Linked DNA regions of Homo sapiens: all the other regions are linked to region 1. The links are contacts of gene promoters, found by promoter capture Hi-C in human tissues and cell types (Jung and others, 2019). All regions are on one chromosome and are shown on one strand. Each heading gives the region's core, a stretch centred on a gene start or on the middle of the fragment in contact. The rest is flanking DNA. Distances are from core to core; before and after follow the strand shown. Region 1 holds the start of APP (amyloid beta precursor protein). Region 2 has its middle 140 kb from the start of GABPA. Region 3 overlaps APP (amyloid beta precursor protein). Region 4 overlaps CYYR1-AS1 (CYYR1 antisense RNA 1). Region 5 overlaps CYYR1 (cysteine and tyrosine rich 1).

Evidence for each region. The method cuts DNA at HindIII sites, captures the fragments that hold promoters and counts their contacts. A contact is called where the count stands out against the background at its distance.
Region 2: a fragment that was not itself captured here is called in contact with the fragment with the promoter of APP in region 1 in 7 of the 25 tissues and cell types used here (aorta, dorsolateral prefrontal cortex, heart left ventricle and 4 more).
Region 3: a fragment that was not itself captured here is called in contact with the fragment with the promoter of APP in region 1 in 4 of the 25 tissues and cell types used here (dorsolateral prefrontal cortex, lymphoblastoid cells, mesenchymal stem cells and 1 more).
Region 4: a contact is called between a fragment that was not itself captured here and the fragment with the promoter of APP in region 1, in 3 of the 25 tissues and cell types used here (mesenchymal stem cells, mesendoderm cells and thymus).
Region 5: a contact is called between a fragment that was not itself captured here and the fragment with the promoter of APP in region 1, in 1 of the 25 tissues and cell types used here (mesenchymal stem cells).

What each region holds. Positions count from the first base shown.
Region 1 is chr21:26,167,151-26,172,295 of GRCh38, forward strand. It overlaps APP (amyloid beta precursor protein), which reads right to left and starts at 3,620. Exons shown (of 18, transcript NM_000484.4): 1 at 3,414-3,620. The coding sequence starts at 3,470. It overlaps APP-DT (APP divergent transcript), which reads left to right and starts at 3,717. Exons shown (of 4, transcript NR_186396.1): 1 at 3,717-3,902. RefSeq lists enhancers at 2,123-2,332, 2,831-3,355 and silencers at 2,373-2,642, 3,143-3,972. The HindIII fragment of the contact is 4,835 bases long and covers 1,085-5,145 here.
Region 2 is chr21:25,869,746-25,874,350 of GRCh38, forward strand. No RefSeq gene overlaps it. Among named protein-coding and RNA genes, the nearest start is that of GABPA, 140 kb to the left of the region's middle. The HindIII fragment of the contact is 8,437 bases long and covers 1-4,605 here.
Region 3 is chr21:25,909,767-25,914,284 of GRCh38, forward strand. APP (amyloid beta precursor protein) reads right to left here. Exons shown (of 18, transcript NM_000484.4): 14 at 1,975-2,196. Among named protein-coding and RNA genes, the nearest start is that of GABPA, 180 kb to the left of the region's middle. The HindIII fragment of the contact is 8,779 bases long and covers 1-4,518 here.
Region 4 is chr21:26,450,946-26,455,671 of GRCh38, forward strand. All of the region lies in intron 1 of CYYR1-AS1 (CYYR1 antisense RNA 1), which reads left to right. Among named protein-coding and RNA genes, the nearest start is that of CYYR1-AS1, 47 kb to the left of the region's middle. The HindIII fragment of the contact is 4,645 bases long and covers 1-3,888 here.
Region 5 is chr21:26,484,269-26,489,219 of GRCh38, forward strand. All of the region lies in intron 2 of CYYR1 (cysteine and tyrosine rich 1), which reads right to left. The region is part of intron 1 of CYYR1-AS1 (CYYR1 antisense RNA 1); the gene reads left to right. Among named protein-coding and RNA genes, the nearest start is that of CYYR1-AS1, 81 kb to the left of the region's middle. The HindIII fragment of the contact is 7,460 bases long and covers 1-4,951 here.

The DNA of each region.
Region 1 (5,145 bases), core at 2,370-4,869:
CTCAGTATACCTAATCTGTATTTTCCTTTTGGTATTTTAGTACATTCCACTTTGTTTTATTATCATGTGCATGTTTTATTTACCCTGCAAACTTCCTGGGAGTAAGGGGAGGGAGGAGGGAAGGGGAGGTAATGAGGTATGCAGTCGAACTAAACCTTACATTCTGGAAGCTTTAAATTTAAAATGCATCTGTACAGGTTTATCTTTACATTTGTAATTGATAGAGATTTTAAAAGAAATGTATTAATGAAAGATGCTTTGTAAGATTCTCAAGGTAATACAATTTGCAGAAACAATGTACATTTCTACTGAATTTAATGCACTTCTCACTGATAGTTTAGTGGCCACGTGAAATGCAAGTAATAGCTATGCTTATTTCCAGAATGACTGACAACATTCATACAAATATCTGTAGAAGACTCTAGTATGCAAAAAACAGTAACATAAAATAGAGATCCTCTAGCAACAAGACTTAACATAAAGACAACCTCTCCCATTCCTTCAAACCAATATTGTTGATCACGTTATTTCTTTTTAATTTTTTTGAATCAGCCATTCCTCATTTAACCTCGTGAACTTGCATGTTCCTTTTCATTTCCTCAGTCAGGACCAGTATTATTCCATCTAGTAACTTCTCCGCAGTACTAATAGCCTTGCAAATGTCGTTCAGGAGCCTCTGCTGGTTCCGGTGACAAGAGAAAAGCTTCTGCAGTCTGCCAGTTATCATGGTTTCTCATCGATTAGCAAGAACCGTGACTCCTTACAGATCACCATCAAACCTGAGCTTTACTATTCTGTGTGTCGGCTTCTACCTTTAGCGAGGTACTAGTCAGTAGCAGCAGGTTTCCATAAACTATAAATTAGCACTACCACAAAGGTAAGATGATTGTGACTAGGTTAAACCCTCAACAGAGGGAAATAAAACTTAAGAGGAAGCTAGATTTAAAAATAAATAAATAAATAAATATTAGGGTAGTGAAACATCATATAGATTAGGGTTTGTTAAACTCACACCTCTATCAACATACCAGCCAAAATCATCAACCCAGATAATAACCATGTTTCCCCCGATAGCCAAGGCCCCATTATCATTGCCCTTATTCATTTCTTTTCTACAGCCACCTGCAGCAGACCTATTTTCTAAGCTCTATAAAAGACAGTCAACTCGTAATTACATCTTTTCAGTGGACACAGAGAGAACCAGATAAACCACCCTCAAACCTCAGTAGACTGAATTACCTACCCTTCTACCAACACTTCGCAAAATGGCATAATGTGAATCTCACCTCCACCCTTTAAAGGAGTTAACAATAGCTACTGAAAAGGTCCCAAAAGATGGCAGAAAGAGCATATTAATGCAATTAAACAGACCAAAAACTAAATTCGAATCTGCCTACATGCTTCCTCTTTTTATACAGAAAGAAATATTGCTCAACAAAGTTACATATTTAAGTTTTGACAAAAGCTTCAAAAATACGGTTATCATATGCTTTTAATTCCTTAAATGTATGGTTTTTAATCTGTAGTAAGACCATTCGGGAAAACTGGAATAATTCTACAAATAAATGTAAGTAAGTCATGAGAGAAATCAGAATTCTCTTAGTTAAGTGCATTTTTTTAAAACATGGAAAACGAAATTCTTTAACTCTTAAAACAACCTGTCTTAACTAGCCCTAAGGTGATTCCTGAGCCACTTGTGGGTAAAAATCAGAAGAGAAAAAAGTTCAATGACCTTGCAAATTAGAAACTAAAAAACTAATGGTGTGATAGTCTGTACAGCCTCAGTGGAATTACAGGAAAACATCTGCCCGGAAATTGCTTTTTTTCTTTTGGAAAATTACTAGGAGGCTGGGGGAAAAGAGGGGAAAAACGGGTAAGGAAGGTTGCAAATGTTAAGATGCCAAACAGGAACCCAACCGAAGTCCGAAGTGAAATACAGCCTCCTCTGGCCCAACTGTCATGCAAACAACTTCTAAGCATCTTCAGATGTAAAGAAAAACAGTCATTGTGCACAGGCGTTAGCTGAATGTTCGAGAGTTGGATGAATGGGGAAGACTTGTTATACACCTAGTGGTGGGTGGATTTCACTAGGCTGCAGCCTCCACACAGCTTTTCTTTGCTGCACTGCAGAGGCGCCATCTTCTCCGTCTTAATCTTCACTCAATTCGATCCTTTTATCTGCACCCTAAAAAAAAGACCCTTCGGACCCTCCCCAGCATCCTGTGCCCCCAGGGGAACTAAACCAGAGTCCCCAGAGCTGCCAGGGAAGAGGCCGCGCCTTAATCAGACAAACGCCTCCTTGGATGCACAGGACAGAGCCCGTGCCTCCCCACCATCCGCCACTGCCCTTTCCAGACGCACATCCCACTCTCCGCCTTATTTCCTCCCCGCCAAGGACTTTACAGCCCAGCACAGAATTAAGCCTCGGAGGTGATCCGAGGGTGGGAAGCAGAGGGGCCCCGAGGCTCCGCCAGAAGCCCCGGCAGCGTCTCTGCCCCCTCCCAGGCGGACGCGCAGCCCCGGGAAGGGAGCCGGGCGGGAGCCTCGGTGGCGCACTGAGACTAACGCGGCTCGGCCCACGGCGAGGGCGGGGTGTCGCGGCTTTTGTTCCCGCGGACCTTCTGCCTCTCAGACAGAGCTTAGGGTGCGAGCGAACTCCCGGGACGTCCAGACTTGGGGAAGGCGCGGGGTGGCTATGGGTCTCCGACCCCTCCCATTTCTCGCAAGTTACACAAAAGGGAGACGCGGACATGCACAAAGTTTGCCTGTGGAAGGCGGTGCGCGACCCCGACGCCGGCTCGGGCTAGGGTCGCACCCAGGCTGCCGCCGCCAGCAGCCGCGAAAAGAGGTTGGAGCAAGGAAGGGGGATGGGGGTGAGAGAGGAAGGTGAAACGAGGCGGAGAACGCAGGGAAAAGCGAGGGGCTCCTAGCTTCCTGGGCTGTCCCGACTCCTCCTCCTCCTCCCCAGGGCCCAAGAGAAAGGAAAGGGCAACGATTCAAGAGCGAAGGACTGGCTTTAGGGACGCTGCGTTTTCGGTTTTCCCCACGTGCTCCTTCCCCCTTCCCCCCTGTCTGAATGTCTCTCGCCTCCCCCGACCCCCGCTTCCAAGGCAGGGACTAAGTCGGGGTCTGGGCTCAGGGTCGCCCCCTACCCTTCTCGCCCCGGGCTGGCGCGGAACCAGGGAGACCAGCGCCTCGCCCGCTCCCTCTCAGCGGGCCGGAGCGCGACTCCCTGGGGCAGGGCTGGGCCGAAAGCGGGGATGCGCTGGACGTCCGCAAGCGGGGGCGGAGAGGAGAGGGGTCCCATTGACGGACCCCCGGCTTCTCTGCATTAAAGACTTGGGTTAAGGTCTTGGGGGGTATCGCGTCCCCACCGTGCAGCCTCCCCCCGCCTTCCGAGGCGCGGCACCCACCTCCAGCGCCCGAGCCGTCCAGGCGGCCAGCAGGAGCAGTGCCAAACCGGGCAGCATCGCGACCCTGCGCGGGGCACCGAGTGCGCTGCTGTGCGAGTGGGATCCGCCGCGTCCTTGCTCTGCCCGCGCCGCCACCGCCGCCGTCTCCCGGGGCCCCCGCGCACGCTCCTCCGCGTGCTCTCGCCTACCGCTGCCGAGGAAACTGACGGAGCCCGAGCGCGGCGGCGGGGCTCAGAGCCAGGCGAGTCAGCTGATCCGGCCCACCCCGCTCGGCACCCGAGAGAGACCCCTAGCGGCGCCGCCGGGGAACTGCGCCCGCTCGCGCCGGGAGGGGCCCTCGCGCCCCGCGCCCACAGGTGCACGCGCCCTTGGCGCCGCCTGCACCCCACGCGCCCCCTCCGCTCCCCGGCCGACGGCCCACCTGGGCTTCGTGAACAGTGGGAGGGAGAGTCTGGGGCCAGGAGAGGGACGGTGCAGGATCAGGGAAAGGTGAGTCCTAGGACGCTGAGGCTCTAGAAAAGTCGAGAGCGCTCCTGCTCGTCCCCGTGAGCTTGAATCATCCGACCCCGCAGGCCTCCCGGGGGTGTCGTATAAAGGACTGCTGCTAGGGTGCGTTTTTATCCGCATTTCGTTTTTTCTCTCGGTTTGGAGAGGTGGGGCAGGCGTTTCTGGAAGAGAATGAGAACGAGTGAAGCTTAAAGGAAATAGGATTTTCTTTGCTTGTTGAGACAGCAAAACCTCATTTTTTAACCCCCAACGTCAAAAGCAGGCACGAGCAACCTGGAATTTCTATCTTTAGAACGAACCAAAGGAGCAAGGCGCAGGACCTGGCAAAGAAGCGGCCAACCCATTTACTTCTTCTTGAAAGCAGGGTTCTGGGCTTGGGTTTTGTTTCTTTCTTATATTTTTGTTTGTTTTTGGTTTTGTTTTGTTAAAGGGGGTGGTCAGTGTGGATTTTGCGGGGCGGGGGGTCTTTTTTTGTTGTTAAGCAGGGATGTAACATCCATCTGAGTTGGGGAAGAAGGAAAAATTAGGAGAGATCATTCGTATTCGACCCCCGTAAATGAGGACTTCTGACCTCAAACGCTGCCCTTGTTCTTCATTGTGTCTGTCCTGAATTATAGAAATGAACCTTCTGCCATGCCACTTTCTCCTGGATTAAACACAAACCGTCCACTGTCCAGTTAGTGTCCAGATAGTTTAGAATGCTCTAGAACTGCCCAGATATATCCCCTGCTCTTGACCTGAAGTAGCATTTAGTTACCAAGCCACAGCCCACTCCACACAGGGCTTGGAGCGAAGGACTGAAGCCAGGGAGTGCTCTGGCCCTTCTGAGGGCTGCACTGCAGCCTGCCTTCTCTCCCTTGCTCATTGCGCTGACAAGGGTGCCTAGGCCCGGGAAGGATGGCTCAGCCAGCGGGGTACAGACTTCCTTCCTGGGAAGTCATTTCTGTACCAGCTCCCCTAAATGTTGTCTTGTGTGTCTTTTCCCGCACTAGGCATTCAGTCTTGACTCTTGGATTACTTTTGCCCCTGAATGTCCTTTGGATGTCCTCAACAAATAAGGACAAATATTTATTGTCATGCAGTATTTGTTTATACGCTTCATGTCATTTACTTCCTACAAAAGCCAAAGAGGCTGTTACTATTATTCCTATTTATACATCAGGAAAATGAAGCTAATGAACTCCCAAATCTAATAGCAAGTAAGTGACATGAAGCTGGGACAGCA
Region 2 (4,605 bases), core at 194-2,693, 300 kb before region 1:
TCTATTAAGTATCTGTATTCCAGGGTTTTGTGTAATTCACCAAAGCTTTTATAATAATTTCTAAGAACAATTTTGATCAAAGACCTAAGAAGACAAATAAAATTCTTCAGTAATAGGTATAATTTTCATCAAATGATTGCTTTCCTTTTTTTATTGTTAGGGCTCTATTGCTAAACGTGAAAGGGGAGCTGTCTCATAGATAAAACCCTCTGGTGTTCTGAAGGATGAATGGGAACAGTGGAGGCAATTTATCAGAAGCCTGTTTTTCTCTGCCAGGTCCTCCAGCCCATTTCCCCCAGGTCCATGGAGAGGAAACTCTCATAGGAAACTGACATAAACATAGACATTTCACTTTGGTCCAGCCAATCTACCATTAAGAATATTCAAATCCATTTATGAATGGATCTTGAGAAAGAAAAAATATATTGCTATGTTGGTTATTTTGTAAACGCCCAATGGGTTCACTTTGCTTGCCTAAACAGAGCCAATTTATCAAGACAGGGGAATTACAAAGGAGAAAGAATAGTTCACGCAGTGCCAGCTTTGTGGGAGACAAGAGTTTTATTGTTACTCACATCAGTCTCCCTGAGCATTCAGGGACTGGTGTTTCGAAGGATAATTTGGTGTGTAGGGACTCGAAGTGGGGAGTGCTGATTGGTTGGGTTAAAGATGAAATCATAGGAGGTCAAAGTGAGTTCTTGCTGTCTTCTGTTCCTGGGTGGGATTGCAGAATTGGTTGAGCCAGATTACCGGTCTGGGTGGTGTCAGCTGGTGCGTCGAGTGCAGGGTCTGCAAAATATCTCAAGCACTGATCTTAGGTTTTACAGTAGTGATGTTAGTCCCAGGAGCAATTTGGGGAGGTTCAGACTCTTGGAGCTGGAGGTCGCATGGCCCCTAAACTGTAGTTTCTAATCTTGTAGTTAATATGTTAGTCTTGGGAAAGGGTTATTATCAATTTTGTTTCAGAGTTAAACTATAAACTAAATTTATTCCCAAGGTTAGTTCAGCCTATGCCAAGGAATGAACAAGAACAGCTTGAAGGTTAGAAGCAAGATGGAGTCAGTTAGGTTTGATCTCTTTCACTGTCATAGTTTCCTCAGTTATAATTTTTGCAAAAGCAGTTTCACTTTCTAGTGTCTAATATTTTAGTAAGTCCTTCTCCTTCCTCCCATTTTCCTACCTTTTTGATCCTTTCTCTGTGCTACTTGCCAAAGTGTGCCAATTTCAATTCACTCATTTATTCAACAACTACTCCTTGAGCATCATCATGCACAAGGCACTAGACTAAACACTAAGGATTCATCCGTGAAGAAGACAGACAAAAAAAAATCTTGTCTTTGCGAAGTTTACGTTCTTGTGAGAGGAAGGCAATAAGCAAATAAAAGAGTAAAACATATGAGTCAGATGGTGCCCAGGAGAAAAGTGATGAAGAGAAGGATATATGAAATGCTTCTTCGTATGCTGTTAGGGCAGGGGAGAGAGTTAAGTTTTGGCAACCATGGTCAGGAAAAGCATCATCAAAATGGTGACATTTGATCAAAGACCTAAGAAGACAAGGGAATAAGGTGAACAGATAACCAGTGCGTTGCGATTTTTGGGTAGGGCTCAGTGGTGAATGCTCCTGTCTGCTCCACACGGCATCCACAGAGGCGTGGTGGTGGCAGGTGCCTGTAGTCCCAGCTACTCGGGAGGCTGAGGCAGGAAAATGGCGTGAACCCGGGAGGCGGAGCTTGCAGTGAGCCGAGATCGCGCCACTGCACTCCAGCCTGGGCGACAGAGCGAGACTCCTTCTCAAAAAAAAAAAAAAAAAAAAAAAAAAAAGATGGTCCTAATTTCAACACCTTGTATGTTAAGTCTCTGGATAAGCATTACCACCTTTAACAGTGGTTTATAAGTAAAAATTGTATTTTGCCACAAATCTGCAATTTGGGTAGGGCTCAGTGAGGAATGCTCCTGTCTCCACACAGCACTCAACAGAGGCAGCTGAGCCGAAGGATGGGGGTATGTTTCCAAGATGGCGCCCTCATGTGGCTGGTGAGTTGGTGTTGGCTGTCAGCTTGGGAGTTTGGCTGGGGGCCTCAGTTCCTCTCCATGTGCAGTGTGCACCTGTATGTGCAGGAATGGAGGAATGGAGTTATCATTTACTGAGAAGTGAAAGGCTAAAGGAGGAGCAAGACATCTGGAGTCAGATGTTGGACACATTAAGCGTGAGATGTCTGCTAAATATTCAGCAGGCAACTGGGAACCTGGAGTTCAGAATGGAAATTATAAAAAGAAATTGCCCTACCAAGGGAATTAACATCCTTGTCTTTCATTACTAGTTAATTATGCTGAGCTGACCAAGACAGGAAATGGCCATTACCCATACTTATCCCTAATAGAATGTGTATATTTATCCAAATGTGGTAGTTTTAAAACAAGTTCTTTGACATTCTTCCCATCAAGAGATGGAATCTATGTCCCCTTTCCTTGACCTAGGCAGGCATTTGTGGTTGCCTTGGAACCAACTGGGTATGACAGAAGTAATGTTATGGAACTTTTGAGGGTGAGGCATAAAAGGCAATACAGTTTCTGCCTCTCTCTTTGGGATGTTCATCCTTGAAACCCAGCCACCATGCTCTGAGAAAGCCAGGGCCACATGGAGGTGCACATTGCTTGTGGAGAGGAACTGAGGACCCCAGCCGAACTCCCAAGCTGACAGCCAACACCAACTCACCAGCCACATGAGGGCGCCATCTTGGAAACACATTCCTCATCCTTCAGTTCAGCTGCCTCTGTGAGTGCTGTGTGGAGACAGGAGCGTTCCTCACTGAGCCCTACTCAAATTGCAGATCTGTGGCAAAATACAATTTGTACTGTATAAACCGCTGTTAAAGGTGGTAATGCTTATCCAGAGACCTAACATACAAGGTGTTGAAATTAGGACCATCTTTTTTTTGTTTTTGAGAGGGAGTCTTGCTCTGTCGCCTAGGCTGGAGTACAGTGGCGCGATCTCGGCTCACTGCAAGCTCCGCCTCCCGGGTTCACGCCATTTTCCTGTCTCAGCTTCCCGAGTAGCTGGGACTACAGGCGCCCGCCACCACGCCAGGCTATTTTTTAAATTATTTTTAGTAGAGACGGGGTTTCACCGTGTTAGCCAGGATGGTCTCGATCTTCTGACCTCGTGATCTGCCCGCCTCGGCCTCCCAAAGTGCTGAGATTGCAGGCGTGAGCCACCGCGCCCGGCCAGGATCATCTTCTAAAAAATTTTTTTTTAGCCATTGTATTGCTAGTGCCTGGCATTGTCTGAGTATATGCAGTAGGCACGCAATAGCTGTTTTAAATGAATGAACCAAGATGAAACATCTGTGACCATCTTACAAATGGAAGGAGGGAAGGTTGAAAACACTGAGAAAGTCTCCTAGTTTGGAGGAATAGAGTTCAGCTCAGGAAGAACGTAGTTCAGGGTAATTTTTTTTTTTTTTTTTTTTTAAGACAGAGTCTTGCTCTGTTGCCCAGGCTGGAGTGCAGTGGCATGATCTCGGTTCACTGCAACCTCCGCCTCCTGGATTCAAGCGATTCTCATGCCTCAGGCTCCAGAGTAGCTGGACTTACAGGCACATGCCACCAAGCCCGAGTATTTTTTGTGTTTTTAGTAGACACAGGGTTTCCCCATGTTGGCCAGGCTGATCTTGAACTAACCTCAAGTGATCCACTCGCCTTGGCCTCCTAAAGTGCTGGGGTTACAGGCATGAGCCACCGCACCCGGCCAGGGTAGTTAAAAATTGTATGCTCTGAATGTGTAAAACAGGTTGTCCAAGAAATCTTATGGACAATAAAAGTCATTTACTTTGGAAATTATTCTAAAACATTTTGAAATAGAGCAATGTTAGAAATGAGATGCTGCCTCTGCTAGTTGCCTCAGAGCTGGTTAGTTAGCAGAGGATAGATTTTCTCGGTTTAATAGCCATAAAGGATCTTCATATTCTGATTTGATCTGCAAATGTATTCAACAAAGTGACTGCATGATGAAAGCAAGAAAATTATATAAATAATTTCCACTCCAATTTTTCGTATATGCCCAAAGTCATACCAGTGTAGAGCCTTAACATGTTTGTATGTAGGGGACAGGGAACAGAAGCGTATTAATAGACACAGGGCCATTCAAGGATCCTCTACAAGACAGTCATTCCTGATTGACTAGCCTAAATCAGAAAATGGTGTGTATGGTTAGGCCAAAATTAGTCTCTTCTTTTTTTTTTTTTTTTTGAGACAGGTCTGGCTCTGTCACCTAGGCTGGAGTGCAGTGGCACAATTTCGTCTCACTGCAGCCTCGACCTCCCGGGTTCAAGTGATTCTCCTGCCTCAGCCTACCGAGTAGCTAGGAATCACAGGTGCGTACCACCACGTCCGGCTAAATTTTTGTATTTTTAGTAGAGACAGGGTTTCACCATTTTGCCCAGGTTGGTCTCGAACTCTTGACCTCAAGAGATTCACCCGCCTCGGCCTCTCACAGTGCTGGGATTACAGGTGTGAGCCACTGTACCTTGCCTACATCCTGTATTTTCTAAAACATGCATTGCATTTATAATCATAGTGCATATTTTAAAGCAAAGACAGGAATCT
Region 3 (4,518 bases), core at 1,274-3,773, 260 kb before region 1:
CTACCTGTAAAGAAACAAAACAATCTGCACTCAATACATTTAACAGGACAGTTTTCCAGGTCTTTGATAATGAACTGTCCCTAAAATTGTTTTCTTCTATGTGATTAAGAATTATTTTCATAAATGGTAAAGTTTTAATTATTTTTACATTGTCAGTAACATGCTGTTTGCTATTACTGTAAGGTGCCCTTTTTCAAATTAAGGAAACAAATTTGGGGTGATGATTCACATTGTGAAAATAGTCTATATATTTTCTGCAATGGTTCTTTAGAAAAAACTTGTCCAGTACACTTAAGGTCTAATATTATATTTAGATTTAGTACTAATTGCATGTTATAAGGTATATATATTTTTTACTTTATTTATTTATTTTTTTTAAATTTAAAGTCTCGCTCTGTCACCCAGGCTGGAGTGCAGTGGTGTGATCTCAGCTCACTGGCCACGTCCGCCTCCCGGGTTCATGCCATTCTCCTGCCTCAGCCTCCCGAGTAGCTGGGACTACAGGTGCCCGCCACCACGCCCGGCTAACTTTTTTTTGTATTTTTAGTACAGACGGGGTTTCACCATGTTAGCCAGGATGGTCTCGATCTCCTGACCTTGCGATCTGCCCACCTCAGCCTCCCTAAGTCCTGCGATTACAGGCGTGACCCACGATGCCTGGCCTATAAGGTATATTATAAATATGAAATCTCCATCAACATTTGCTGCTTTGATAAAGAAAATCAGGTAAAGTGCTGTTGTGTTCTTAAAAAACATGTTATTTGTATCTAGAAATCAAGGTGTTTGTGTGTAATTGTATACTTCTGAACATGTAGAAAAAGATAAAAGAAGCTGAAAGATATTCTTGCCTGAACAGGTGTTTCTGCTAAGAAATCCCTGTGAAAAAGGATGCCATCTACTGCTCAAATTTGTTGATAGAGAAGAATCTTACTTCTCTGAGGTACCAAAGGAAAAAACATTTAGAGCAATGTGCTCCTTAATTTTGGCAGCTGCCTTAAATTTAATTTTCTAAACACAAATTAAGTCTTAAGCAAAATTAAATTTTATTTATATGTAGTTCTCTATCTTTGCCTTTAACATTTAATTCAATCTGAAATTTCATGTAAGAATAAGTAGCCAGTGAAGACTACTTTGGTGCCTGTCAAATCTGCATCTCTGCAGGCCCTCAAAACTCCTCTCTGTTGGTAAACTGTAATTTTTCCTTATTTCACTATCTATCTGCTTTTTTGGAAGGTGGCATTCTAGGTCATTACGTCATAAACACAAGTTGAATTTTGTGCTTCCATTCCAGAGGGAACAATATACCTCACAGTTAAAAAACATTTCTAAAAAATTCCTACCAAAAGTCATCACTTAAGAACTTAGTCTCCTGGTGCCTCCATTTCCTCATTTGAAAAAGTCATAAACATAATAATATGATATACAGTACATGCTCTTTATGTATCCACTTTTGTTATATAATGTACCATTTTATATTAAGAAGAGGAACTGGAAAATAAAAATTAGAAGAATGTTATTGCCACACATTTTCCTTGTGAAGAACTGCCTCTTCAATAATACACTGTGGCTCCCCTTCGTCCGGGAGTGTTCACTCGAAGGATAATATTCCCTAGAATGCAAACCTGGACATGTGCGAAACAAGAGGCCCTTTACCTGCAAATGTTATGTAAATCATTACCATTTTGTTTTGCCACCTATACAATGGAGTTGTTGTCTTTTCCAACAATTGGCAGTTTACATGCTTTGCAGCATAAAAAATATAAAGAATAATTTACACAGATATATTATTTTAATGACATAGTAACTCCTAGTATTTACTTTTTAAAGTAAAATTATAATGAAAATATTTATGACTACATCAAAAAAAATTCACCACTCAAGAACATACAAAAGATAACTCTCTCTCTTGCACACACGTTATGTATGTGTATATATACCTCCCAGAACGCCCTTGCTGGCTCAGGGGACTCTTACCTTCGTTTTCTGTGTTGGCTGGCACAGAGTCAGCCCCAAAAGAATGCCACGGCTGGAGATCGTCCAGGCTGAACTCTCCATTCACGGGAAGGAGCTCCACGGTGGTTTTCGTTTCGGTCAAAGATGGCATGAGAGCATCGTTTCCGTAACTGATCCTTGGTTCACTAATCATGTTGGCCAAGACGTCATCTGAATAGTTTTGCTCTTTCTGAAGCAGCTCATCTAAACCAAACAAAACCATCTCTTTGGTGAGTAACAACAATCACAACAGCAGCAGCAGCAGCAGCCACCATTTACTTCTGCCAGGCAAGACTTCAACTGCTTTCACGTGCATGATCGCGTTTAGAGCCATGACATAGGTACCATTATCATCTCCCTTTTACAGATGTGAAAACTGAGGCACATGGCATTCAAGCTACTTATGCAAAGTCGCAGCTCACAAGAGCTGCTGGCAGGACTGCAGGCAGGAGCATGGCAGCCGGCCAATGTGCTGCAGCGTGGCACTGCTAGAGGTGAAAGGCCACAGGGGCTCAGCTGCCATTTCCTCCTGACACAGTTAGACGTCCCTAGTATACAATGATCGCACAGGAATAAACGCCAGGCTTTGGTGTGGCGGCAGTAAGTGAGGCACAATCTCATTCAAGCTGAAAGACAACAGACAATCTCCTGTCTTGCCTTGCACACTTGCAAGGATAAGAAAAGCATTAAAGGGCCAGTAGTTTGCTACCTTCTTGAATAGTTTTCACTGTCTTGCCTTGAAAAAAAATCTGCATTTCCTAAATGCTCCTCTTGTGCTGCATGACCTATGCTCTGAGGCAACAAGGAAACTGTTCCCTTGCCCTTCCAGATGTAGCCCTGCAGACAGACATCCAGCCTTCTCTGGACTTAACCACCCCTGGCTCCCCGTATTTCCCAATGTGAGCAGACACCAAATATCCTGCCTTTCTCCTCTGTTGCTTCCCTTTCCAAAGAATGCTGTCAGTGCCGCCTACCCCCCCACTTTAAAAATTGATTAAACAAGAATCAGCTTTATGGAACATCATTGACTTATCTTTTCTTACTGGAAAAAGAGAGCTTAGAATATAATCTTGTATCATGTGTAATTACTGCTTTAAAAACTGACCCCAGGATATGAAGATTTGTGAGTCTTCTCTTATGTCACCAAAGATTCACCATGTTTTTCTCTGATTTTTACAAATTAGAGACCGACAGACAGCACTGCACTATTAACAATAATATTTGATTAACCAAAATGTCTCATTTTCCAATCATAGCTGTGTCAAGAGTTTGCTGTAGTATATATTTCAGACACATCACTGGTTAGTTTTATTGCTAGAGAAAATGAAAATAAGATCAGGATTTAAATTTGATTTGTAACATTTTACAATCATCTTTCAAATTCTCTTTTCTATTGACAAAAAATGTATCTGAAAAATTAAAATTCTGTTCAAATATACCCATTAAAATAATTTGATGGAATAGCATTAAAGCTTGTGATTAATATCTTTTCATGTAGTCAGTTTTATTGCAAGTGATTTTAAATGATGGAAGTCCCAAGCAAATTAGTCCTTTTGAAGTCTAATCTGAGTTATAATATATCCCTATTCACTGTGGCACCGTTTCTAAAATTCAATACTTGATGCCCATGATGACCTTTCCCTTACAGATAAAAGACCCTCATTAGATTTCCTCCAACTTTTTCATGTTTTACAAAGCCATAGGTAGCGGCTAATAACTTAGCCAATGTCTGATTAAATAAATTAAATGAGCATTTCTTTTATATAAATCTTTTGCTTGTGACTGTTAAGCACTTACTATGCTAAAGAGAGGATATTCTGGAATACTAATAATTATTGGTGCATACACATTCATCTTGACAGGAAATAACCTTTGCCAGCGAGAAAGCTCTTGAACTCCCCAGGGGCTACGCTGTTCTTGGGTCTGTGGTATCTACTATCACTTACCATGTCCTTTATTTGGAAATGTTCTCACTGTTTCGCATACACAGTACTTATCTTCTTCCCTGTGACATCTCTGAATAACTCTTTTTACTCTTTTTTTCTCCTCTCTTCATCCCTGTCATTTTCTTCTTGTATCTCTTTCCATCTCTTTCTACAATTCTCCCCTTTGGAAATCCCATCGACTCTTGAAACTCTAAAGATCTCCTACCTTTGGGTGAATCTGAAATGTACTTCCCCAGCTTTGACTTCTCCCTCCCACTCAAATTTGTATATTTCCAACAGTTTGCTGGAGATACCAACTTAGGGCTCCCTCCTGATCCATGCACTTGGTAGGTACACAACTGTACTCAAGGTCCCTGGCTTTCCCTTCCACCTTTCCTGTTTTCTAATCATGGCAGAACCATTCTCCCTCCCAGTCACAGGCTTGAATCCTTCAGAGCCATCCAGGACTCCCTGTATTTCTTCGTGTCCAGTACTCACACTACCGACAAATCCTTTTGCATTCTATTTCTGAATTCTCTCAGCCATTTCCTGCTTGCTTTTCCACACCACCCTCACCGCCCCTAGGAATATGATTACTTTT
Region 4 (4,726 bases), core at 316-2,815, 280 kb after region 1:
AACGTTTTTCTGTCCAAGGAAGCTTTTTCTGAGTAAATTGTAGCAAAAGACATATCAACACCTATAACTATTTCCTTTGGAAGCATCTACCCCTTGTGATTCTCTCTCCTTCTACTCCCTTCCATGACTCTCCTGAGTTCAAAGAATAAGGCCAATTTGCTTTTAGAGCTAGCCTTATGAGTGAACTGCCTGTAACATTTTGGGAGGAGGTGGTAAAGGAGTAAGAAACCAACATGTCCTGCATACTTACTATCTAGCACTACACAGAACTTTTCCTTTCATCATCATAACAAGAGTATGAGTGTATTAGTCAGAGTTCTTCAGAAAATATATCCAATAGGGTATATATGTGTGTGTGTGTGTGTGTGTGTGTGTGTGTGTATGTGTGTGTTTGTGTGTATAGAGAGAGAGACTCATTTTTAAAGAATTAGCTTATGTGAACTTGTGGGTTGGCAAGTCCCTATTCTGTAAGGCAGGCCAGTAGTCTGAAAACTCAGGCAGAGTTTCTATGTTGGAGTCTTGAAGCAGAATTGCTTCTTCCTCAGGAATCCTCATTCTTTCTTCTTTAGACCTTCAACTGATTGGATGAGGCCCACCAACACTATGGAACATAATCTTTATTTAAAGTCAACTGATTGTAAATGTTAATCACATCCACAAGTACCTTCACAGCAACATCAAGGCTAGTGTTTGACCAAACAGCTGGGCACCATAGTCTTGCCGAGTTGACACGTGGAGTCAGCCATCACAGATAGCTCTTGAAAGCACAATCAAAGCACCAGATCATACTAAGTGGCTTACAATTTGCAAGTGAGGAAATTGGGCTCAAAGAAATTATGTAACTTCAACAAGGTCTTGTAAGTGGTTGAGCTGAGATTCAAATCCAATTCTGACTAACTTCAAAGTCCACATGTGGCCACTGCACGCACACACACACACACACACACACACACACACACTAACATCTCATATCCTTTCTAGACAAATCCCTGGAAAAATTTATGTCGTAGAAGAGGAAAACTAACCAAGACCATCTTTCATTATCATTGGTATTGAAAGCGGTTATGCACCACAGGGTTGGGGGAAATTAAGTCAGAAAAAAGGCAGCTGTCACAGATAAACCAAAACCTCAAAATTTTGTTTGAGCTATATCTTTTAAAAAAAATTCCACTGTTTTTAGACAAATAAAAATTGTTTAGGGATCGGTAGTTGAGACTGAATCACATGGAGAGAGCTTAAGAGAAAAATTATTAACCATATCAGTTTGTTTAGCTACTCCAAATGTATACTTGGAAGCAGTAGTCCACATCCTTCTCAAGCATGTTAGAGCTTTATAAGCTCCATTTTCCTTCCCTTCTCCTTTTTTAGGGAAATTAGAATGTTTTGTTTTTCATTGGCTGTATCTTAGGAAATAGGATGGTTTAGTAATTTCAATATTGGGTTCAATTAATTTTCATTCTGTATGTATTGAAGATCTTGTGTATTTTTTTATGTCACTCCGCAATATAAAATGGGAAATTTTAGGCAGGATCAAAATAGCATTACTTCCTTAGAATATAATCCTTGAACCCCTAACTCATTCTATTTTGGCTCAGAGTTAGAAAGCAACATTGTTATTTCAGAAAAAGAAGCTTGATTATAAAGATAGCAGTTTTCTGAAAAATGTCCATGTTTATCTTGTTTTACTTTGACTCGTCTTACAGGAGTAGCTTTTAGAGAAAGCTAAAAAATGTCATGAACTATTGACTCAAGGAAAACACTAATCTTATAATGAAAGTATTGCTATTTTTAGATTTGAGGCTCTCATTGATTGTTATATGAGGGTAAGAGATTAAAATCTAGTAACTGACATGGACATTTGATTGATTTGTAAGTTTAATTTTGTAATTGACTAATTTGGGAATGAGCAATGATTTTACATTCTTAAATATAAAATGGATTCTCTATATTTTGATACCATATCCACATCCATCTCCTATTATGAATGCTTAAATAAGTATCAGACACAGAGCTAATTACTGGTCATGGGAAATGTAGAGATAATTGAATATTCATGGTGATAGACTAAACATTTCTAACTTTAGACGCATACAGACTCCTTAAATTCATTTCAAAGGGGAAGAACCACATGCAGGACAGTTGTCCAGGTGGCCTTGGACTGACCCAGTTCTCCCCACCTTCTCACTGGTAGTTCCTTTTTTTCTATTAAAATTTTTTTTTGACACTCAAACAGACTTGCATTAAAGTTGTTCTTAATAATAACTGTAAAATGTGCTGGGACTGTAAAATCCTGAGATAGGGAGGGACTGGCTGAAATGGCCTTGGTTCTATTCCAGTCCTCCACTAGAAGCAGCATGTCTTCCAAAGCTTAAGCCCAGTAATTCACCTGACCCTCGGGTATAAACTCAGGGCAGCCTGCTGTTCAGGGTCCCTCAGCTGCCGTGCAAGTGGAGAGTCACACGACACGGTCAAGACTCAATTTGTCCCAAGCAGCTTTCCTGAGACTCGGGGAACTGGCTTATAATGAATCCTAGGCTTTTGCTCTCCTTTGCTGCCTGTCTGTAAGTAATAAATCTGCTTCATGTGACTTGTTCTGTATGAGTGTGTTCCATCTCACTGGACTCAGAGAAAATGGTAAGCTGTGTACAGTGAGCCTGCTTCACAAAGAAAAATAATATTTACCATTTTTCCTTTAGCTTTGCTCAAAGTTACTTTCAAAAGATATTAAATATCCCAGAAATTGCAATAGCGTTAGGAGGTGGAAGGCCTCATGTGCTATGGGACAGTTCTGGAAGAAAACTAACAAAATATTCCATAAGAACAGTCGTAAAAACCACGGCCTTCTCAGCCCTCACTTTTATGTTATCTGACGCAACCCTTCTTGTCCCTATCCACTCTCTATAAAATGAATGAAATCAGCAGTGAATCTTTGTGTAGTATCATATGGGAGCATCCAGAAGCGTAGACAGTACCATACAAATAACCCAATTCTCCAGTCCAGGAAATGGCAAACAGGCTAGTAGAAAATTCCAAAGGGAAGACCCAAGGACTTTTTAAAATGAAAATAAATTTTTGAGACTTAATCTTGTGCTGGGAAGTTTTATTTCTGGGTGTAATTTTGGTGAATAGGCTAAGAAGGGCTGGTTAGAGTTTTGCCAGCATTCTCCAAGCACAAGGAGACATTTTGAGGTAAAAAAATATCTCCAGGGAACCATAATACCCTATTTTGAATTACTCCCAATTTTATTCCAGTACCACCTCTCTGGCAGCCATCCTCAGCTGCTACTCAACAACCCAGCTACACCTCTAACTCCTTCAAGATCCATGGCAGTGACCCGATTTCCAAGATTTTCTTTTGTGTTTATCATCTACACATATCTATTAGAGATGTGCTAGAGGAAGCACTCTGCTGGGATGTTAATGTATATTGTGATGGGACGGATAACCATGACCTAATGTGAAATGGTATCAGGCTGTGTATTTGCAAATTTGCCTTAATCCTATATCTTTGTTTCACACCTCTCTCTCTCATGTGCCACCATCAAGCATCCGTAACAGGAGCATAAAAATGCAGTTATAGAAATCAGAGCATTTTGGAATCTTAAGAGCAATATATTAATACAAGTATTATATATTGCAGCAAAGGAATTTATCTTACACAATTTTGTCATTTGAAACAAACACACATTATAGTAACTCTCTGCATATATATATGTACACACACATATATAATATAATATATATATAATATGTTTAAGGTTGGCTAGGCTAAGCTATGAGATTTGGTAGGTTAGGTGTATTAAATGCATTTTCTTGTTTTTAACTTTTATTTTACTTTAAGTTCTGGGATGCACATGCAGGTTTGTTACACAGGTATACGTGTGCCATGGTGGTCTGCTGCACCCATCAACCTGTCATCTAGGTTTTAAGCTCTGCATTTCAACTTAACAATATTTTCAACTTACAGTGGGTTTATCTGGATGTAGATAGTATCATAAGTTGATGAGCATCTATAAGTATGTACTATATATGTATACGTATATATCACTCTTTGCCTCAGTATCTTCCACTGACTTCCCAATTCATTCAGAATAAAATCCAAAATCCTTACCGTGGCTTACACGGCTTTACATGACCTGTGTTCTGATACTTACGTGACCTTATCTTCATCTTCTCTCCCTTTCACTCATGATGCTTCAGCCACATTGGCCTCCTTGCTCTTCCTCAAATAGGCTGAGTATTCCCCTACCTCAGAGGATTAGCTTTTGCTGTTTCCTCTTCCTGGTATACCTTTGCCCTAGATACTGGCAAGTCTCATTCCCTTACTTCTTTCAGTTCTCTGCTTAAATAGTACTATATCAAGAGTTCCTTGATCATCTTACCAAAAACCCAGCCTTTTTGTTTCCCAATCCTGTTACTCTCTTTCCTTTGAGCTTGCTTTTTTCTCCCAGAGCTTTTTCACAATTGATGCACTATTTATTTGTTTATGTTTTCTTCTTCTCCATTAGAACGAAACTCCAGGGAGTTTTCTTGTTCCCTGAAGAATCTCCAGCTTCTAGGACCACGGCTGACACATAGTAACGTGCTCAGTCAGTATTTGTTGAATGAATGAAGGAATATTAACAAAGTTAGGCCTAGATAGCACAACTCATCTCCTTGTTTACTGAATTGATGATCTATGTCTTTATAAAGGGCTTTTATGACTGTGAAATAGTTGAGCCTTGCT
Region 5 (4,951 bases), core at 1,446-3,945, 320 kb after region 1:
ATCCACAGAAAACTCTGAAAACTGAAAGTGCACATAAGGGATTGTGAAGCTGTATTTATACTTTCCAGAGGATATTTTCTCTCTAACACTTTTCCCCACCTACATACAAAAATAGAATGCCATTAAGAATATCAATAATCTCCTTTAAAATACTTCTATAGGCATTTTTACTTAGTTATTAAGAAGGCAGAATGTGAGACATATTTGGATGTGTTGCTATTAGTAATTAAATAATAGCAGAGTCCAGTAGTTTAATAAATAAATCTTTTCAAGAAAAAAAGATCTATGAAAGGAGATAATTCGAAGTGAGAAAATTAAAAGTAATCTGGAAACTTCCTTTATTGTAAGTTTCAGGTCCAAATAAGATTAAACTGGAGGACTTAATTTATGTTCCAGAAATAATCAATGGCCCAGTTATTCAGGCATAGAGTTTCCAAACTATGTGTTATGGAAGCTGTTAAGATATCGAATTGGGACATATTTATATTCATTAATTCTTTTCTTAAATAGAGGAAAGTAGAAAATTAGTCACATTTTGTTTCCTTGTTGGCAGCTCCAGCAAAAGTGCCTGCTCTTGAGGTCAATAATGAGGTTGCAACTAATGTATTAAATTAGTTTTTTTGATTAAATCATGAAGTTGGTGCCCTTGATCCTTTGATACCCATTAGCAATCGTAAATTAGTTATTTAAGACATGGCAAGTATAAAATTTACAGCATTATTTACTTTGTAATTAATAAAAAGAAACAATAAACAAATAGTAACTTTCCTGCATATAAATAATTGGCTCAGTCAACTGTTGGAAAGTGAGAAGCTATTAATTTGAAAAATCTGGCATCATTAAAACCTTGAAAAAATTTCAGGGAATGTATTTTTTTTAAAACAACGCCTTGCAAGGTTTGCACATTTTCCTCTCTCCTTTTAAACTTTTATTTTAAAATAATTATAAATTCACGGGAAGTGTAAAAAGAGTACAGAGAGAGCTCACGTACCCTTCACCCAGTTTCCCCAGATGGTTACATCTTAAGTAACAATGGCACAACATGAAAAGCAGGAAATTGACATTACTATAAGGTGTATTTATAGTTCCATGTCATCTGAACACATGCACAGAGTCATATAACCACTACAGCAAGCAAGATACAAAACTATTCCATCATCACAAAATATTTCCCTTTCGCTATTACTTTGCTTTATGGTCATATCCAACATGCCTTCTCTCTGCCATCAATAACCCCGGGTATCAGCAATCTGTTCTCCGTTTCTGTAATTTAGTCATTTCAAGAAGATTATACAAATGGAATCATACAGCATGTGAGTTTTGGAGATAGTCTTTTTTCCCTCAGCGTAATGCCTTTGGAATCCATTCCAGTTTCTGCATGTATCAGTAGTTCATTCCTAGATGAGCAAGCAGTCCATGATATGGCTATAACACACTTTGTTTAACCATTATTTATTGTAGGGCATTTTGGTTTGACAAATAAAGTTGCTATAAACAATCATGTACAGATTTTTGTGTGGACATAAGTATTCATTTCTCTGCAATAAATGCCCAGAAGTGCAATTACTGGGATGTACGATAAATGTATGTTTGAGTTTTAAAGAAACTTCCAAGTTATTTACATTCCTACCAGCAAGGTATGAGAGATCCTCTCTGCGTCCTTGCCAGTATCTAGTTTTATAATCTGTTTTTTAGCTGTTTTAACGGATAAAGCATTAAGTGTAGTGGTATTTCATCATGGCCTTAATTTGCATTCCCGTAATGGCTAGCAAGGTTGAACATGTTTTCGAAAGCTTATTTGCCATTCATCTTCTTCAGTGAAATGTCCACCTGAGTCTTTTGCCCATATTCTAATTGGATTGCTTGGTTATTTTACTGTTGAGTTTTTGAGAATTATTTGAGTCCTTTACAAAATATGTAGTTTGCGAATATTTTTACTGGTCTGTAGCACATCTTTTCATTCTCCCAACAGGGTCGTTCACAGAACAAAAGTTTTTAAATAAAGTCCAATCTATCATTTTTTTTCTTTTATGGATTGTGCTTTGGGGTCATACGTGGGAACTTTTCATGAAGCCCTAGGTCCTGAAGACTTTCTCCTATGCTTCTTTCTAAAAGACTGATTATTTTACATTTGATATTTAAACCTATGATCTATTTTTGTTTAATTTCTGTACGAGGTATTAGATTTAGGTTGAGGTTCATTATTACCAGATTATTTTGCCTGTGGATAGCCAGCTACTTCAGTACCATTTATTAAAAGCATTCCTCATCCCCCCATCGCATTGCTTTTGCACCTTTGTCAAAAATCAGTTGGCCTGTGCAGGACTGTTTCTAGGTTCTAATTTAGCTAATTTTTTTTTCTTTTTTTGCAAAATGAGATTTTATAATCAAGATATTAAATGTATCTATGGTGGCTGAAATAATATGAAACTGTCTTTTATAACAAAGCTCAGAGATAATATATTTTATTCCATAAATCGCTTTTCATGAGTAAAAAAAGATTCTGATAATGTTGCCATGTTGCAGTAACACTTTTAGGCTTAGCACTGCTATACAGCAGCTTACTAGTTATCTTGATGTGGTTTTACTATTAATATTAAATAATATTTAAGGAAAATAGCAGATATGAAAAGTACGCCAGAGTAATATTTATCTTCTTCTCGGATACGACCCAATTTACAAATGCATTTTATAAAACTATAAATCAAAGGGCTTATGAATATTCTATGTAATAATTTAGTAACAGCAGTCCCAATAAAGTAGAAAAATTAAAAAGGCCATGCGGATATTTGATATCTATATTTGATACCACACGGATATTTTACACCTATACAAAAAGTGGGGAAAATTCTAGAATATTTTTGTTAGGATAAACTTCCATATGGAAATAAGAGTTTGAAATAAAATACCTTTACCTTTGAAATAAGTCAAAGGTAAAAGTATCAGAAGAGAGAGTTCTCTGGAAAAAGTAACCATAGCTTCAAAAGAATAAACTTAAAGTAGGTTTATTTCTTATTAAAATAAAAAAATTATAAGTGAAGCTAAAGCATTTTTATCTTTTGTTAAAGAAGGTAATATTTAGTCGACTTATTTATTTGTGATGATACACATGAGATGAATTAAGCAATGATAAAAATCCTATTCCTACTACAGCGCTGAAAGTCGACTACATACATGAGAATAAATCTTGGCAAAATTCTATATCAGATCATCCTACTTCCTCAATAATTCATTCTTTTGGCCAATTCATTAAAATACTGTAATACCCTTGAATACAATGTTTTATTATAAATCATTGGCAATTTTAGTAACACTTTGACTTGCTTAACTTAAAAATAATGCATTTTCTTCTCTGTTGCTTAAATAAATACAGAAAATAATAGAAAAACAAACTCAATGGAGTATCATTTTCAATATTAACAGTATTTACTTATATTAATCGTAGGATCTCAGAACTATCTCTATTTCTATTTTTATCTCTATGAGTCTGGTTACATGTACATCTATGTATACGTGTATCAGATAAGAAAACCATAATATCGAATAGTTAAATTGTTATTAAATATTGTTACTACTCCAAGTGTAAAATGCTTAGGAGGGTAGGAAGACCAATCCATGTAATTTTTCCAGTAAGTCTACATTACTTGCAAAAAAAAAAAAAAATCTGTAAAATCCAAATATGCTAATAATGTTTTTTTATTTTGCTTTTTTTTTTTCTTTCATTCTGGTGACTCCCCTTAATAACTTCACTCAATATATCCTCTTTCTTGGGGCTTTATAGATAACTTCTTTCTGTTAGCCTCATGATAATAAAACTGGAAACTAATATCTCTTTGAATGAATAAATTTACGTGATTTATTGACTCAAGCCCCATGACAGAGACAATTGTGTAACCCAATATTCATTTTCTACATTTTCCTTGATAAAAGAAGTCTGAGGGTTGACTAAAATAAAGACTACATCTTCCCCTACTTCCTTCCTTCCTTCCTTCCTTCCTTCCTTCCTTCCTTCCTTCCAGACAAGGTCTAACTGCGTCACCCAGGCTGGAGTGCAGTGGCTCACTGAAGTCTCAACCTCTGGGCTCAAGTGATTCTCCCACCTCAGCCTCCCTAGTAGCTGGCACTATGGGCACACGTCACCATTACCAGCTAATTTTGTAATTTTTGTAGAGACAGGATTTCGCTATGTTGCCAGGCTGGTCTCCAACTCCTGAGGTAAAGCAATCTGCCTGCCTCAGCCTCCCAAAGTGCTGGGATTACAGGCATGAGCCACCATGCCTGGCGAGTACTACATCTTCCAGGTAGCCTTAAAGCTAGTGTTTTGTTTTGTTTTGTTTTTTACATGTTGAGTTTTGGAAAATAAGTTGTAATAAAATATTTTGTGTCAATTCTCAGGAAACCTCCTTAAAAGATGGCTGGAATGGGATTTTTCTCCCATTTTCTGTCTTACCTTCCTTTCAGCTTTCTGAAATAGGAGTGTAATGGCTGAGCTCTAGTCTCCAAGGTGGACCATGAAGACAAGAGCCATATCCTAGGGATGGAAGAGGTATGAGTTTGATGGAGTTTGTATCCTTAATAACAACATGGAGATGCTGTATCAACTCCCATTTCCTTTGCACGAGAAACAAACTAGTTTAAAAAAAATTATTAAAGTCTCTGTTATTCTAGTTTGAGTGTGAATGTATGTGTGTGTGATATGCTACCCAACCTAATCTTACCTAATACAATTCCTTTGCCAAAATTGCTATACAGTTTAAACAAAAGCAAATATTTAATGTGGAAATGGCAGTTTTAAGGAACATACAGGTACTCTGGGATCCTGTAGAAAAGTTCTAAAAAAGCATATCAGAACCAGGAAAGCAAGAGACTGCATTCAATTTCATTAATTGGGATTGTTCCTCATATCTTACGTAGAATTAAACTTTATGGCTCAGTGAGAGATCTTTAAGAA